4 separate regions of the Homo sapiens genome follow, and regions 2, 3 and 4 are each linked to region 1. The links are contacts of gene promoters, found by promoter capture Hi-C in blood cells and fetal thymus (Javierre and others, 2016). All regions are on one chromosome and are shown on one strand. Each heading gives the region's core, a stretch centred on a gene start or on the middle of the fragment in contact. The rest is flanking DNA. Distances are from core to core; before and after follow the strand shown.

What was found. The method cuts DNA at HindIII sites, captures the fragments that hold promoters and counts their contacts. A CHiCAGO score of 5 or more calls a contact.
Region 2: a fragment that was not itself captured here is called in contact with the fragment with the promoter of EOLA1-DT in region 1 in 1 of 17 cell types (total CD4 T cells); the score reaches 5.9 in total CD4 T cells.
Region 3: a fragment that was not itself captured here is called in contact with the fragment with the promoter of EOLA1-DT in region 1 in 2 of 17 cell types (neutrophils and activated CD4 T cells); the score reaches 5.2 in neutrophils.
Region 4: a contact is called between a fragment that was not itself captured here and the fragment with the promoter of EOLA1-DT in region 1, in 1 of 17 cell types (total CD4 T cells). The highest score is 10.5, in total CD4 T cells.

Annotation. Positions count from the first base shown.
Region 1 is chrX:149,537,336-149,541,001 of GRCh38, reverse strand. EOLA1-DT (EOLA1 divergent transcript) reads left to right here and starts at 1,250. Exons shown (of 10, transcript NR_027455.5): 1 at 1,250-1,301; 2 at 2,096-2,278; 3 at 2,830-2,887; 4 at 3,224-3,369. It also overlaps a transcript of EOLA1 not described here. RefSeq lists silencers at 397-587, 620-689, 700-1,009, 1,760-1,839. The HindIII fragment of the contact is 11,440 bases long and covers 1-3,666 here.
Region 2 is chrX:149,870,802-149,874,751 of GRCh38, reverse strand. The region is part of intron 2 of LINC00850 (long intergenic non-protein coding RNA 850); the gene reads right to left. Among named protein-coding and RNA genes, the nearest start is that of MAGEA8, 8.4 kb to the left of the region's middle. The HindIII fragment of the contact is 213 bases long and covers 1,621-1,833 here.
Region 3 is chrX:149,951,246-149,955,162 of GRCh38, reverse strand. The region is part of intron 7 of EOLA2-DT (EOLA2 divergent transcript); the gene reads right to left. Among named protein-coding and RNA genes, the nearest start is that of EOLA2-DT, 15 kb to the right of the region's middle. The HindIII fragment of the contact is 3,193 bases long and covers 705-3,897 here.
Region 4 is chrX:149,893,999-149,898,186 of GRCh38, reverse strand. It overlaps MAGEA8-AS1 (MAGEA8 antisense RNA 1), which reads left to right and starts at 1,181. Exons shown (of 5, transcript NR_102703.1): 1 at 1,181-1,260. The HindIII fragment of the contact is 178 bases long and covers 2,428-2,605 here.

The DNA of each region.
Region 1 (3,666 bases), core at 1-2,500:
AGCTCCCGTCATCCCTTTCACGAAGAACGTACGTGGGCGCGCAATCACGCATGTATGCACACCACGCACGTACGCGGGAGGCACGTACTCAGCCATGCATATAGACAGCAAACATTATGAATCTCGCATTCTCGAAGACACGCACTGACGACATCACGCACGTACGCACGCCCTGGCTGCTAGGAGACGCTATTCTCTTTACCTGGCCCTGATGCGCGCCAGCCAACCAGGCCAAGGCCAGGGGACCTCGAGACCGGCAGCCTCGACGAAGAACCGGAAGGAGGAAAAGGAACGGGAGGGAGGAAGAGTAAGTGGAAGGGTGGGACGAGGACACCAGGCAGGAGTTTTGGGCCCAGAGCTGCTATACCAGCAGGGAGGAGCTGGGAGAAACCGCTGGGGAGGGGGTGGAGGCGGGGCTGAGAGGAGGAGGGCGGAGCTGGGGGAGGGGCCGAGCGGGACTGACAGAAACAATTGGGGGCTGGGTTGAGGGCGGGGCTGAGATAAGAGGCGGGGTGTGGGGCAGGGCCGGGCGGGGCTGAGAGAAACCATTGTGGGCAGGGCCGTGGGAGAGCTGAGCGAGGAGAAGCTGCAGGAAGAGCTCGCGGACTCTTGAGAATCAGCAGGGGGAGGCAGGTGTCCGCTGAGAGAAGGAGGGAGGGGGAGAAAGAAATCACTGGGAGGGGCTGGGGGCGGGGTTTTTAAAGCAGCTGCGTGAGAAGTAGGGCGGGGCTGGGAGAGGCGGGGCTCTGGGGGGGCTGAGAATGCTGGGGAAGGTTTGGGGGCGGGGCTTTGGAGGCAGCCACAGGAGAAGCAGGTCGGGGCTGCGGGCGGGGCTCGGGGTGGGGCGGGGCTGAGAGAAACTGCTGGGGAGGGGGCCGAGGGCGGGGCTTTGGGAGCAGCCGCGGGAGAAGCGGGGCGGGGCAGGGAGGGGAGGGGCGGGGCAGGGAGGGGCGGGGCTGAGAGAAACTGCTGGCTGAGGTCGGGGCTTTGGAAGCAGCCCCGCGAAGAGCAGGGCGGGGCAATGGGAGAACTGAGCGAGGAGCAGCTGCGGGAGGACCCCTCGGACTCCTGAGAACCAGCTTAGGGGAGCGGGGGCTTGGGGAGGTGTAGGGTGGAATCACGAGAAAGCTCTGTGGGAGGGCCTGGTGCACAGCTCAGCTGCAGCGTGGAGCTGAGGGAAAGCCGGGCGTTCCTGGAGGAGGAGCAGGGCGGGGCTGTGGCAAAGAGGTGTGGGAGCAGATGGGGCGGGGCTGCGGGAAATTGCTGGAGAAGGGGGAGCCAAGCTGGAGTAAGGCTGGCGGGTGAGAATGGTGGGGGAGGAGCTAGTGCAGAGCTGGAGGAAAGAGCTGAAAGGTGCTGGGGTGGGCAGAGGGGTAGGAGAAGCGGGACGGGGCTAGAGGAGGCGGAGCTGGGACTGGAGATGCAGGGTGAGCAGGGTGGGGCTGCAGCAGGAACTGGGTTAGAGCTTCTGGAGGAGCCGCCTGCAAGAGGAGGGCGTAGTTGTGGGAAAGAGCTGTGGGTGGAACTGGTTAAGTGCTGGGAGGAGGAAGAGCTGGGGGCGGAACAGCTGGGGCGGAGCTGCCGGAGGAGGAGCTGGGGGTGGAGATGCTGGTGAAATGAAGCAGAGCCGAACTGGGGGTGGAGCTGTGGGTGGAGCTGGGGGAGGGAGCTGAGGCCCTTCTGTGATGCACCCTTAGGCAAGAGTCAAAACTTGCCCGCAGCGACCTAACTGCACCTCCAGTGTCTACCCCCATAGGGCACGGAAGCAGCAAGAAGGGCGGGAACACTTGACTGGGGTCTATGCAGCTCTAGGCTGAGTCTTGCAGGGCTGAGCCCCCCAGGCCTGCTCTCCTGTGTCCTAGCCGCTCTGTCAGTGCCTGCCAGTGGGGTCCGGAGGAACCGTCTCTTTAACGTCTCTTTTGCAGGTGATGAGAAACATCCCCACTCTTAATGTCTTGCCTCCTCCGACCTAAGTCGCCCAGCACACAGCCCAACTTCCCTGGCAAACTTGCTTTTCAAACTCTCTTCTCTCAGTCACGGGCTCAGGTTCTGTAGTGCTGCCATGCTTTACTCCTCTGTCCCTCCCCTTATCTAGTCTCCCGCATTGACTTCATAACCAAGTTCTGGGTCCCTGCCTCTGGAGTGCCTGATGAGACAAAACGGCTCCTCGTCCTGCATCCCCGCTGCTACTTCCAGAATTCAGGCCTCGTGGTCTGGAGCCTGCACTGTTCCATGAGCCTCCTGAGCAACCTGGAGTCCTCTGTCTTTCTTCCCTCAGGTCTGTCGTCCACATTCCATCGGCTCAGTTTCTAAGTCACAAATCTGTCCCCAGCAATCCTCTAGTGAAAACGCTGCTGGGCCTTCTCAGGTTTAAGTCCTAGCAGTTCAGGGAGTCGGCTCAGCTCTCCCCACCCTTAAGCCAAACACTCTTTGGGTTCACGCTGTGCTGTTCAGTCACTGGTCCCCACCAGCCTGCTGTTCCAGGTCTCCCTGCTTTGCACCGGCGGTTCCCATGGCCTTGTCCTGGTGCGCTCCTGGCCTCCTTCAAGGCACAACTTTAAAGTCACCTTCACAGCCCCACTCCGAGTATTAGAGACTTTCGTCTCCAGCTCTGATAGCATTTTGTACCTCCCCCGTCCCCACCCCACGTTAGGCTCTTGCAACCCAGGGTGGTAATTGCTCTGTAAGACTTGTGGCTGCCGCAGGGTCTCTTGAGTTCCTTGAAGGCAAGGCCGGTGTTTTACTCATTTCTGAAACTGGGTGCCCAGGGCACAGTATCTGCTTAGTAAGTGTTGAATGAGCAAAGGGCTGCTTTCTTGTTTTTTCTAGTGAGATGCGCCTACTTCTCCCTGGAGAAGCTCGAGGAAGCAGGAATGCTGGAGATGAGGTGAGGAGGAGAGGGTCCCTCTTTATGGGATGTAGGCCGTAGGGCTGCAGGGGACCTTCAGATCACCAGTTCCAATTCCTATGCATGCTAGCATCCCCTCCTGGGTTCCTTCCCCACAAGAATGGTTGCCAGCTTCTGCCGAACACCCCAGAACCTGCTTAGAGTGGTTTCAAATCATGAATGAGGATCCCCGGGATGGTGGGTGGCCGTTGCTCCTCCCGTGGCCTCTTGTTTGAAGAACTAGAACTCGCATAATGAGCTGGATAGCCACCGTGTGGCTGCTAGCAGGGAAGCCCTTGGTGGCCACATAAGGGCTCCCTTTTCCAACTCTCTCAGCTGCTCCTCACTCTCACTCCTGGGTGTGCTGGGCAGTGGGGTGCAATGTGCACGTAGGTGCACACTCTCCCTGGGCGGCAGCGAGAAGCAGAGGTCTGATCTGTGGTCGGATGAGGAGAGGAAGTGCAAGTAAAGCAGCTGCAGCGGTGAGTGGGCCTAGGAAGAATGGCATCAACAGGCCAGGCAGGGATGCGGGTGGTGTTCGGCTAACCCTGAGAAAGGGACCAGAATGCACCTGAGTCTTGATTTTCATTCCCAATAGCAGGTCAGCACGAAACCCAAAAACGCTCTGATTTCTGCCTTCCATGCTACACTCTCTTCACCTGCTGCCTTCTCACTCCTCTCATTAACAATGTCCTGGCAGGAACAAGACTTTCCCCTCCCTCTCTTCTCGTCTCTTAGCAGGTCAGGTCGGCCTTCACCTCCCTAGACCCGTCCTGCTC
Region 2 (3,950 bases), core at 478-2,977, 330 kb before region 1:
TAATTTACACTCCCATCAACAGTTTATAAGCATTCCTTTTTCTTTGTAACCTCCTCAGCATCTGTTATTTTTTGATTTTTTAGTAATAGCCATTCTGACTGCTGTGAGATGGTATCTCATTGTGGTTTTGATTTGCATTTCTCTAATGATCAGTGATGTTGAGCTTTTTTTTCATATGCTTGTTGGCCGCATATATGTTTTCTGTCTTCTTCTGAAAAGTATCTGTTCATGTCCTTTGCCCACTTTTTAACGGGGTTGTTTATTTTCTTCTTGTAAATTTGTTTAAGTTCCTTATAGACGCTGGATATTAGATCTTTGTAAGATGCATAGTTTGCAAAAATTTCCTCTCATTTTGCAGGCTTTCTGTTCACTTTGTTGATAGTTTCCTTTGCTGTGCAGAAGCGTTTTAGCTTAATTAGATCCCATTTGTCAATTTTTGCTTTTGTTGCAATTGCTTTCAGCATGTTTGTCATGAAATCTTTGCCCATTGCTATGTCCTCAATGGTATTGTTTAGGTTATTTTCCAGGGTTTTCATAAGTTTTACATTTAAGTCTTTGATCAATCTTGAGTTAATTTTTGTATATGGTATAAGGAAAGGGTCTAGGTTTTTTTTTTTGTTTGTTTTTTTTTTTTTTTGAGACGGAGTCTCACTTTGTCACCCAGGCTGGAGTGCAGTGGCACAATCTCGGCTCACTGCAAGCTCCGCCTCCCAGGTTCACGCCATTCTCCTGCCTCAGCCTCCTGAGTAGCTGGGACTACAGGCACCTGCCACCACGTCCGGCTAAGTTTTTGTATTTTTGGTAGAGACGGGGTTTCACCATGTTAGCCAGGATGGTCTCAATCTCCTGACCTCGTGATCCGCCCGCCTTGGCCTCCCAAAGTGCCAGGATTACAGGCACGAGCCACCGCGCCTGGCCAGAGTCCAGTTTTAATCTTCTGCATATGGCTAGCCAATTATCCCAGCACCATTTGTTGAATAGGGAATCTTTTCCCCATATCTTGTTTTTGTCAGGTTTGTTGAAGATCAGATAGTTGTAGGTGTGTGGCCTTATTTCTGGGTTCTCAATTCTGTTCCATTCATCTATGTGTCTGTTTTTATACCAGTACCATACTATTTTGATTATTATAGACCTGTAGTATAGTTTGAAGTTGGGTAGTGTGAAGCCACCAGCTTTGTTCTTTTTGCTTAGGATTGCCTTGGCTATTTGGGCTCTTTTTTGGTTTTACATAAATTTTAAAATAGTTTTTTTTCTAGTTGTGTGAAGAATCTCAATGGTAGTTCAATAGGAATAGCATTGAATCTACAAATTGATTTGAGAAGTATGTCCATTTTTATGACATTGATTCTTCCTATCCATGAGCATAGGATGTTTTTCCATTTGTTTGTGTCATCTTTGATTTTTTTGAGCAATGTTTTGTAGTTCTCATTGTAGAGATCTTTCACCTGCCTGGCTAACTGTATTCCTAGGTATTTTATTCTTTTTGTGGCAATTGTGAATGAGAGTTCATTCCTGATTTGGCTCTTGGCTTGACTGTTGTTGGTGTGTAGGAATGTTACTGATTTTTGTACATTGATTTTGTATCCTGAGACTTTTTTGAAGTTATCAGCTTAAGAAGCTTTTGGGCTTAGACTATGGGGTTTTCTAGATATAGGTCATGTCATCTGCAAACAGGGATAGTTTAACTGACTGCCTCTCTTCCTATTTTGATGCCCTTTATTTCTTTCTCTTGACTGATTGTCATGTCCAGGACTTCCAGTCCTATGTTGAATGGGAGTGCTGAGAGAGTGCATCCTTCTCTTGCGCCGGTTTTCAAGGGAAATGCTTCAAGCTTTTGCCCATTTAGTATGATGTTGGCTGTGAGTTGTCATAGATGAGTCTTATTATTTTGAGGTATGTTCCTTCAATACCTATTTTATTGAGAGTTTTTAACATGAAGGGGTGTAGAATTATATTGAAAGCCTTTTCTGAATCTATGAAATAGTCGTGTGATTTTGTCTTTAGTTCTGTTTATGTGATGAATTACATTTATTGATTTGTATATATTGAACCAACTTGTATCCAGGGATGAAACCTACTTGATCGTGGTGGATAAGCTTTTTGATGTGCTGCTGGATTTAGTTTGCCAGTATTTTGTTGAGGATTTTTGCATCACTCTTCATCAAGAATCAGGGTTCTTGCACTGATTCTTATTATCCTTATTATCTTTGTGGGCTTATGTACCTTCAGTCTTTGAGGTTTCTGACCTTTGGATGGATTTTTTCTTTTATCCCATTTGATGACCTTGAATGTTCGACTGTGGTGTAAGGTGAAGTGAGACTCCAGCCTGGGTGACAAAGTGAGACTCCATCTCAAAAAAAAAAGTCAGCTGGCTGGCTTTGTTTCTGGGGGCCAACACTCAGCACTCAACACCTGGACTGTATGTTCTAATTCTGGGGGACTTGTATTGGGTCCCATCTTTGTTCTCTGGCTCCTCGAGGTTTGGAATCCACTGCACTGTGCAGGCAGAGGTACAACAGCTGTGGTAGAGTGTTTGTGGGTGCCAGGGTGCCTACCTCCCTGCGTGTGTTCACCACAGTGGCGGAGGCAATGCAGCTGGATGGGGGATGGGGGCCCCCTGCTGGAGACTGTGTGTGTGGTCACACTGGAGGTGGTGGTGACTCAGGGGTGGGGTGCTGGTGAGTGCAGGTCTAGGTGCCTTCTCTATGCCCCACAAGCAGGAGTGATCACTCATGGTGGGGGAGGATCTGCTGTCATATCCCCATTCTAATCAGGAGAAAAAGATAAGACAAATACCACTGGATGGATTTTGTGCTAAAGAGCTGACCAATATTCCTCAAAAGTGTTAAGATCATCAAAAACAGGGACAGTCTCAGGAATTTTTACAACTAAGACAAGACTAAGGAAGCATGACTAGCAATGGAAAGAATTAAACTTTTATTCTGCCCTTCCTGTGTATTTTAAGATTACTCTACAGGCACAGTTGAAGAGGGAGAGCTGTTCCTCACTGAAAAATTTAAGCCAAGCCTAGTGAAGGCTATGTTTAACAAAAGAAACAATATCTAGAACCCCAGTGACTGAACTGATGTAGGTTGAATGAAACACTTTGGTTAAAGGTCAGTGAGGAATCAGTCAAAGGAGGAACGAGACTGTCATCACCTGAACCCACGATCAGTGCTGATATGGTAAAGAGTGAAAAAACCAGAACTCATGTGCTTCATGCTGGGATGCTGTAGGAGACATGGCACCACTGATGAAGTCCTTTTATCAGAAGAGTGAGACCTGCCTCTAACCTTGTCACAGAGGCTAACTTCCTATGATCAGAAACACTGGGAAAGAGCAACAAGTTAAATGACACAAGAAGGCAGCATACAGACAAATGAATGGTGGTGAGACATGCTGCAGGACCACAGGCCAGTCTGCTAAAACAAGCCAATAGAATGAAAAAGGACAATGGGATGAAGGCAGACATTGTGGGCAATAGGTCTGCTGGAGACTTAAAAGAGACCCAAGAGTATGATCTAAAGCAGAACATCCGTACACCCTAAGCTCCAGAATGTCCCCTCTGAGGTATGTACTAGTGAAAAGGCATACATTCATTTGGCAAAAGATGTGTCTAAGCATGCCCTCAGTAGCACGCTAGAAACAGCCCCAGTGTTCATCACCCTAGCATGGGTAAATACATTGGGATATATACAAAGGAATACTATACAGCCATGAGCATGAAAAAACCATTGTTACTTCTACAACATGGATGAAGGTCACTAATCTATTTTTGATCAAATATAGCCAGACCCAAAGAATATCAGCTCAATAATTCCATTTAAATAAAGATCAAAACAGGCAGTACTACTCTATCCACTAAAGTTAGGATAGTGGTTACCTTGGGAGACAGTGACTGGGAGGGGAATGAGGGGGATTCTCAGAGAATATGTTAATTTCTTGAGAGA
Region 3 (3,917 bases), core at 1,052-3,551, 410 kb before region 1:
ACAAAAAAATATATTTACCAAATGACCCAGCAATGGCACTCTTGGGCATTCACCCCAGAGAAATGAAAACTTATGTTAATGTAGAAACTTGTATATGAATATTCACAGAAACTTTATTTGGAATAGCTCAAAGTGGAAACTACCAAAATTGACAATGCTTAAATTATAGTACATCCATACTATGAAATACTATCCAGCAATAAAAAGGAATGAACTATTGATACATGTCACAACTTGAAGGAACCTCCAGGAATTATGCTGAGTGGGAAAAAAAGCAAATATGAAAAGGAAACATACTATATAGTATGCTTCCATGTATATAACATCCTTGGAATAACAACATTATACAGATGGTAAACCAAATAGTGGTTGATAAGGGTAAGGGATGTAGAGTAGGAAGTGGGTGAGGCTGTGGAGAGGTAATATGAGAGGAATGTTGCGGTGATGGCACAGTTCTGTATGTTGATTGTCGTGGAAGCTACACAAAACTATACATGTGATAAAATTGCATAGAAACACACACACACAAGTATATGTATAACTGGTAAAATCTGAATAACCTCTGTGGATTGTACCAATGTCAATTTTCTGATACTAATATTGTACCATAGTTAGGCAAGATGTTAACATTGGGGAAGGGTGAGTGAAGGGAATACAATTCTTTGCAACTTCCTTTAAATCTATAATTATTTCCAAATAAAGCTTTTAAAATTAACCATAAGAAAACAAGCAACCCAATATTTTGAATGGACGAGAATATAAACAGAAAATTTACCACAGAAGTTAGATGGATGGCAAATAAGCATGTTAAAAGATGTTCAACATTAATAATCATTAGAGAAATGCAAATTATAACCAGAAAGAGATACCACTATACACCTTAGAGTGGCAAAACAAAACAAAAACACACACAGAAAAACTAGCAGTACCAGGTGCTGGCAAGAATGTGGAACAACTGGAACTCTCAAGCCCTCCTAGTGGGAATGCAAAATGGTATAGCCACTCAGCAAAAGTTTGACAAGTTCTCAAAAAGAACTATAACCCAGCAATTTACCAAGTAACCCAGCAATCCCACTCCTATTTACTCAAAAGAAATAAAAACTATGTTCACACAAACCCTGTACACAAATGTTTATAACAATGTATCCATAATAGAGAAAAAATGGAAACAAACCAAGTATCCCTCAACTATAGGACTCATAAACAAAATGTGATACATCTATACAATGGAATATGACCCAGCAATAAAAAGCAATGAACTTCTGGACTGGGTGCAGTGGCTCACGCCTGTCATCCCAGCACTTTGGGAGGCAGAGGCAGGTGCATCACTTGAGGCCAGGAGTTCGAGACCAGCCTGGTCAACATGGCGAAACCTTGTCTCTACTAAAAATATAAAAATTAGCCAGGCGCAATGGTGCACGCCTGTAGTTCCAGCTACTTGGGAGGTTGAGGCATGAGAATCCCTTGAATGTGGGAGGCAGGGGTTGCAGTGGGCTGAGATCACACCACTGCACTCCAGCCTGGGCAAGAGAGTCAGACTATCACACACACACACAAAGGAATGAACTACTGAAAACACAACAACATAGTTAAATCTCAAAAGCATTTTGCTACCTGAAAGAAGCTACATCCAAAAGGTTACAACCATATCATTCTGTTTCTTTGATAATCTGGAAAACTATGGGAATGGAAATTAGATCAGTGGCTGCCAGGGTTGAGAATGGAGAAGGGGATGAATGCCAAGAGGCGGTACAAAGCAATTTCTGAGGTGATGGAATTGTTTGGTAACTTTAGTGATGGCATTAGGCAAAAGCCATAAAACGGTACACCACACCAGTTTGCACTGTGTAAAAAAATAAGTAAACATGCCAAAAAAGGATCCCCCTGCATACCCACCTAAGTGACAACATGTGCTGTCAAGGACGGAGAGCAAATGGAACTCACACATTGCTGGTGGTAATGTAAATTGCTACAGCCGCTTTAAAAATCTGTTTTTCAATATCTGCTAAAATTAAACATATGCATATCCCATAAATCATCAATTTTACCTCTAGACATGTACATAACAGTAATACATATTCACCAAAGAAAGTAAATCCAAGCATGTTCATAGCAGCTTTGCTTGTATTACAAAAACCTGGGAACAATTCCAGTATGTACAAATAGCAGAATGGGTAAATATATCATGGTATACTGATAAAAATGGAATAGTATATGGCAATGAGAATAAAGTATTGCTGACATGACAACATGGATGAATCTCACAAGCAATATTTAATATAAAAATCCAGACAGTAATAAGATTACGCAGTGTACGATCTCATTTATATAAAGTAATAAAAAATGTTGCAAAATAGCGATTACCTTTGGGCAGAAGTAGTGACTTGGAGGGTATTACAAAGAGGTCCTAGCGGTGTTCTATTTTGTGATTTAAGTGCTGGCTATCTTGTTAAGTTGTGAATGTTCATCAGTGCATTCACTTAATATTTGGGCATGTTTTCTGTTTGCAAATTATACTTCCATTAAAAATGTTTTAGGCCAGGCATGGTAGCTCATGCCTGTAATCTCAGCACTTTGGGAGGCTAAGGCAGGAGGATTGCTTGAGGACAGGAATTTCAGACCAGCCTGGGCAACATAGTGAGATCTCATCTTTAAAAAAAATTTTTTTTTAATTTGCTGGGTGTGCTGGTGCATGCCTGTGGTCCTAGCTACTAAGGAGGCGGAGGTGGGAGGATCACTTGAGCCCGGAAGTCAAGGCTGCAGAAAGCTATGATCACATCACTGCACTCCAGCCTGAGTGACAAAGTGAAACCCTGTTTCAAAAAAAAAGTTTAAGAACTTTTAAATGTATGCTTCATTTTCTCTTCTTTTTAAAATTTAGGCTTGCTTATATAGCCAATTGCTAAAAATCTGTAACTAAAACCAAGACTACAGTAGCTCAATGCATAGAAGTTAAAGATAGATAAGGCAATTTTGTAACCTCGCCTTTTACTTTCTGTTTGTTGGCTTTTACATTACTTCAAAATTGTTAAGGAGTAATAAATGCCTGTCCACGTCCATTCCTGTCTGGCCTAGAACATTTAAACTGTCTATAAGTCTTTTGGCTGTAAGTCTCTTGGCCATAGAGATCCTACCAAGGGACAGGATGGACCTGGGGCAGGCAGCCAAACCACCTCCACAATGCTATGGGACAAAATAAAAGTTTGTCCATTGATGTTGCCTCTGGCAAATCCTGGCCAGAAGGAAAGAATGTAAACCAAAAATAAAATTCTAAGCTCCCCAACCACCTGAATGGACCCCTCCTCTTGGCCAAGGGCATTCCAAAGTTAACCTGAAAAACTAGTTCAGGACATGATGAGGAAGGGGGAGTCGGACATGCCTCATTACCATCAACATGAACACTGTCCTTAAGACTGATACAATAGACTCTTTAAGTCTAATAAGAAACATTTACAATCTATTCTCTCTGAAGCCTGCTACCTGGAGGTTTCATCTGCATGATAAAACTGTGGTCTCCACAACTCCTTATCGTAAACCAGACATTCCCTTCTAATGATTCCAGGTCTTTAGATAATAACTCAACCAATTATTAATACCAGTCAGAAAATTTCTGAACCTGCCTATGACCTGGAAGTCCTCCAACTTCCATTTGTCCTGCTTTTCCAGACCAAACGAATGTACATCTCACATGTATCAGTTGATGTCTTATATCTCCCTAAAAACCAAACTGTGGCCTGACCACCTTGGGCATGTCACCAGGACCTTCTTAGGCAGTGTCACAGGCATGTCCTTAGCCTTGGCAAAATAAACTTCTAAATTGATTGAAAAAAATTTTTAGGTTTTCTGATAAGATTGTCTGATTCCAAGGGAGAGGTGTGAGAATTATACATGAAAGCTTTTGTTCCCAATTGGACAGA
Region 4 (4,188 bases), core at 1,267-3,766, 360 kb before region 1:
CTAAGCAAATCTGAGAAAAGTTTTTTTTTTTTTTTCAATTTATTCAGCTTTTTACTTGTTTGTGTCAATGGAAGAGACACTTCAAGTTTCTTATAGGCTGAACTGGAAAAAAGAATGGACAATAAACATTGGAAAACATATTTTAAAATATCAGTTTTAATAGATTAAAAAATAAAATGCTTTGCTATATAACCAATAAAATAAGTCCCTATCTGTGTGGAGAAATGACAAAATGCTAATGAAGACAATTCAAAGAGGTCCAAGTAAATATATGAACATATTATCTTCATGGACTGCAAGACTCAGTGGAGATGTGTGACCTATACCAAAGCTATCTGTAGATTCAAAGTCAATGCTGTCAAACTACTAGCAGGAATTTTTGTACATGTAGACAAGCTGACTCAAAAAGTGTATGGAAAGGCAAAGGATCTGGAATAGTTAAAACAATTTTGAAACAAAAACCAGAAAATCATGGTGGAATCATACTGCTCAATTTTAAGATGTAATATAAACCTACAGTAATCAAAACAGTATGGAATTGGCTAATGGATACACATATAGATTAATGGAATAGAATGGAGAGTCCTTGAATAGACCCACACAAATATGGCCAATGGAGATTTTTAGAAAGGAGTAAAGACAATTCATTATAAAAATGTTAGGCTTTTCAATCAGTGATATTGGAACAATTGAATATCCATATGTTATTAACAAAAAAACTTCACCAAAATTTCACACTTTAGACAAAAATTAACTCACAGTGGATCATAGATTCAAATGTTATACAAAAAACTATAACGCTTTTAAAGAAAATATAGGAGGAAATACTGATGACCTGAAATCAGGCAAAGAGGTCTTAATCATGACACCAAAAGCGTGATTCATAAAGGAAAAAGTGATAAATTGGATTCCTCAAAATTAAAACTTTTACTTTGGGAAATACATGGATCAGAGAATAAAAAGTCAAATGTGGAGTTACACAAATATATGCAAATTGTATGCCAAACAAAAGTCTTTTATGCAGAATATATAAAGAGTCCTAAAGTTTCAGAAATGAGAAAATGTGTCAAAAGACAAAATTACACCAAATTTGGTTCAAAAATCTAATTAGCTTTCATTTGCAATTCTATAGTGAACAACTTCTCATTCTATTTAAATAGAATAGGTGCTCCAATGAGCTGAACATAACATGTTGGCTTTACATACAGAGCAGGGCTGAGAAATGTACAAACAAGTCTTCAGCCTGGGCCCCATTCCCAGGTAAGTAGCTGAATTGGGGTTTTGTCTTGGAAATTTTCCGTAATGGCTAAAAGTTAAGATTAGCAAGTAGCTGGTCTTAATTTCTACTTACCAATAGAGTACTCGGTAATCCTGTGCTATCTTTTGTTTTGCTTAACTGCCTTTCTGTTTTTCAGTTTGTTTTTTTTACTGTTGTTTTTGCTGTTTTAGTCTTTTTCCCAATGGATTTGGCCAACTCTACTGGACTTGGTCAAATCCAAAGGAAAGTTCCAAATTATGGGGAACAAAGTCTCTGAATTGGCTAAAATCATGCAGCTGAAAAAAAAGAAAGAATTTGATTACCTTAGGTGCATTATTTACATAACAAGGCCACCTTTTAGTAGCCAAGCCAAATTGAAAGAGCAATGGCTGTAGTTCAGTAGCTAAGATTCTGCTCTTTTTTCACATGACAGCCTCGGTTTGGTTCCTAAATCAAGTCCTTTCTGGTTTGATATTTTTGTTACATTTGAACTATCAGCAGTTTATCCCAGCCAAAATATGGTAATGAGATTTAACGAATTTTTTTAAGAGCACAATTATTATGTCAGCTTAATTAAAAGCTAAGATCCAAGATGTATATGTGTGTGTGCCTCTGTGTGTGTGTGTGCCTCTGTGTGTGTGTGTGTGTGTGTGTGTGTATGTGTATGTTCAGAACAGGGATCTCTGAGAAAAACAGAAACAAAAATTTAAAAAGGTAAATATATATGTATACACATACACCTACATATATATTATATATGTGTGTGTGTGTGTGTGTGTGTGTGTGTGTATGTATATATTGAAAAGGCCTTTATGCTTTCTTTCTCTTCTAGAATATTATTTTTTGAGAAAAAGCGTTTTTTACCATTCTCAGTCAACGGAATTCTGTTTTCTCCATTTACTTCTGCCAGTCTCTTTCTTCTTGCCACCGTCTGCTGCATGAGGGGCCTTAAATAATTTCAGGGTCTGTGAAATTAGATTTTTTTCTAATTTCAGAAGCGCTCATTAGAGCTCTTTAGATTTAATTTTTATATATTTAATTATATATTTATATATTGATTTATAATCTATATAATTTAATTTTATATATGTAATTGGCTTACAGACAAAAAAATCACTTAAATCAAATACTTTATCAGAAAAATAGGAGCCCAAATGCTTTTATAAGCTTACTTAAGTAAATCCTTAATAAATAAGTTGGTTTTAAAATTATTGGTAAAATAAAATTAGAAATTTCTTCAGAATGGTCAACATACATTATTGTTGGATTCATTGGTCTAGTAGTTTAATATTTAATATCTGTTAGGTGTTATAAGTTGTCAAAATTTCGCAGGAGAATTGTAAAGCTTGCAGCCCACAAGAGAATTATTTTTGTATAGTTTTTTATAAATAAGGCACTGAATATTGTTGAGTTTAATGGGAACAGCTAAATCTTGAATATTGGCAAAATATACCATTTTTTTAACCTTAAGATTCTTACTGAGGTAAATACCTGAAATGCACGTGCTATAAAATGGTTAATAGGGATATAACTTTAAATGATGACTATCACAATTTTCATAAACAATCTAGTTAAACGATTGAAAAATACAATTAATTAATTGATTAGGAAAATGTAATGAAATAAATGCTTGCAAATAAACCTCACATAGTTTAGAATCTAAAGTTGTATTGAGTTAAATAATAGATATTCATTAAATGGATCATTTCCAATTTCTTTAAAAAAATTATGGGGAAACATTTTTCATAAAAAATGTGTTCTTATTTAAAGGGAAATAAGTTTAGTCTAAATTTAAATGTTATTTAATGGTTATTTTTGAAACAAGGTAAAAGGAACCAGTAAATAAGAGAGATGTAAAGAAAGTTATAGATATAATAAGATATTTTGGTAAGAAAGGCTAAAAGGAGACTAATTTTATATAAAATGAATCTTGCATGGTAAATTTTTTGCCCTAAAATAAAATGACTGGTTATTTAAGAAAAAGGTTGTTTAGGATACAACAGGAGGTCCAAGAATGTTGTAAATGGTTTCTCTAAGCCATAATAAAGTTTGTAAAAAGAGCATTCATAAGACAGAAACTTTATGTGATCAAGTTGGCTATAACTAAAAAGAAATTATTTATAATTGTCTTTCTAGAGATTGGGTATTGATAAGGAAAAAACACTAAAACACTAAGGAATTGGTTAGAACAACAACATTTTTAAGGTATTGATTTATTATTAATAAAATTACAAGGGATTTTAATTTTTTAACTCAAAAGCTCAACTGTTATTGCATCTCACTGTTTTCAGCTTTCTCTCCCCTTTGAAAAGGGCTGAGATAATAACTGTCTCCTTTAACTTTTTCGTCAGCTCCTGTAACCTTTTTCCTCAGGTTTTAACTGCTGTTGTGGACTGATGCTGAAAGTGTTTCATTTTAAAGGTCTAAAGGAAATGTTTTCTTCCAGTATGATATTCTGTGCTCTTGGCTTTAAATTCTATGAAACTAAGAATTTTCACTTATGACCCAGGACACACTCTACCTATTTCTAAGTACTATTTTCATTAGTTCTGACTTGCAGGTTATCTAAAAGGACTCCCCATAGGAAAAGCATTCACACTGCAGAAGGTTGTTTTTTGTTTTTTTTTTAACTTTTGGTAAGTGGCCTAACAAACAAATTTTACATTTTATCAAAATAATTCCTATGTCATTGTTACTATGTTTTGATTTCCTCAGGAAAACTGAGATAAAAAATTAAGATTATTACATCCATGTAAGTTTCTGTATTTCTTTTTTTTTTTTTTTTTTTGAGGCGAGGTCTCGTTCTATCGCCAGTCTGGAGTGCAGTGGCGATCTTGGCTCACTGCAACCTCCGACTCCTGGGTTCAAGCGATTCTCCTGCCTCAGCCTCCTGAGTAGCTGGGATTACAGTTGCCTGCCACCACGCCCAG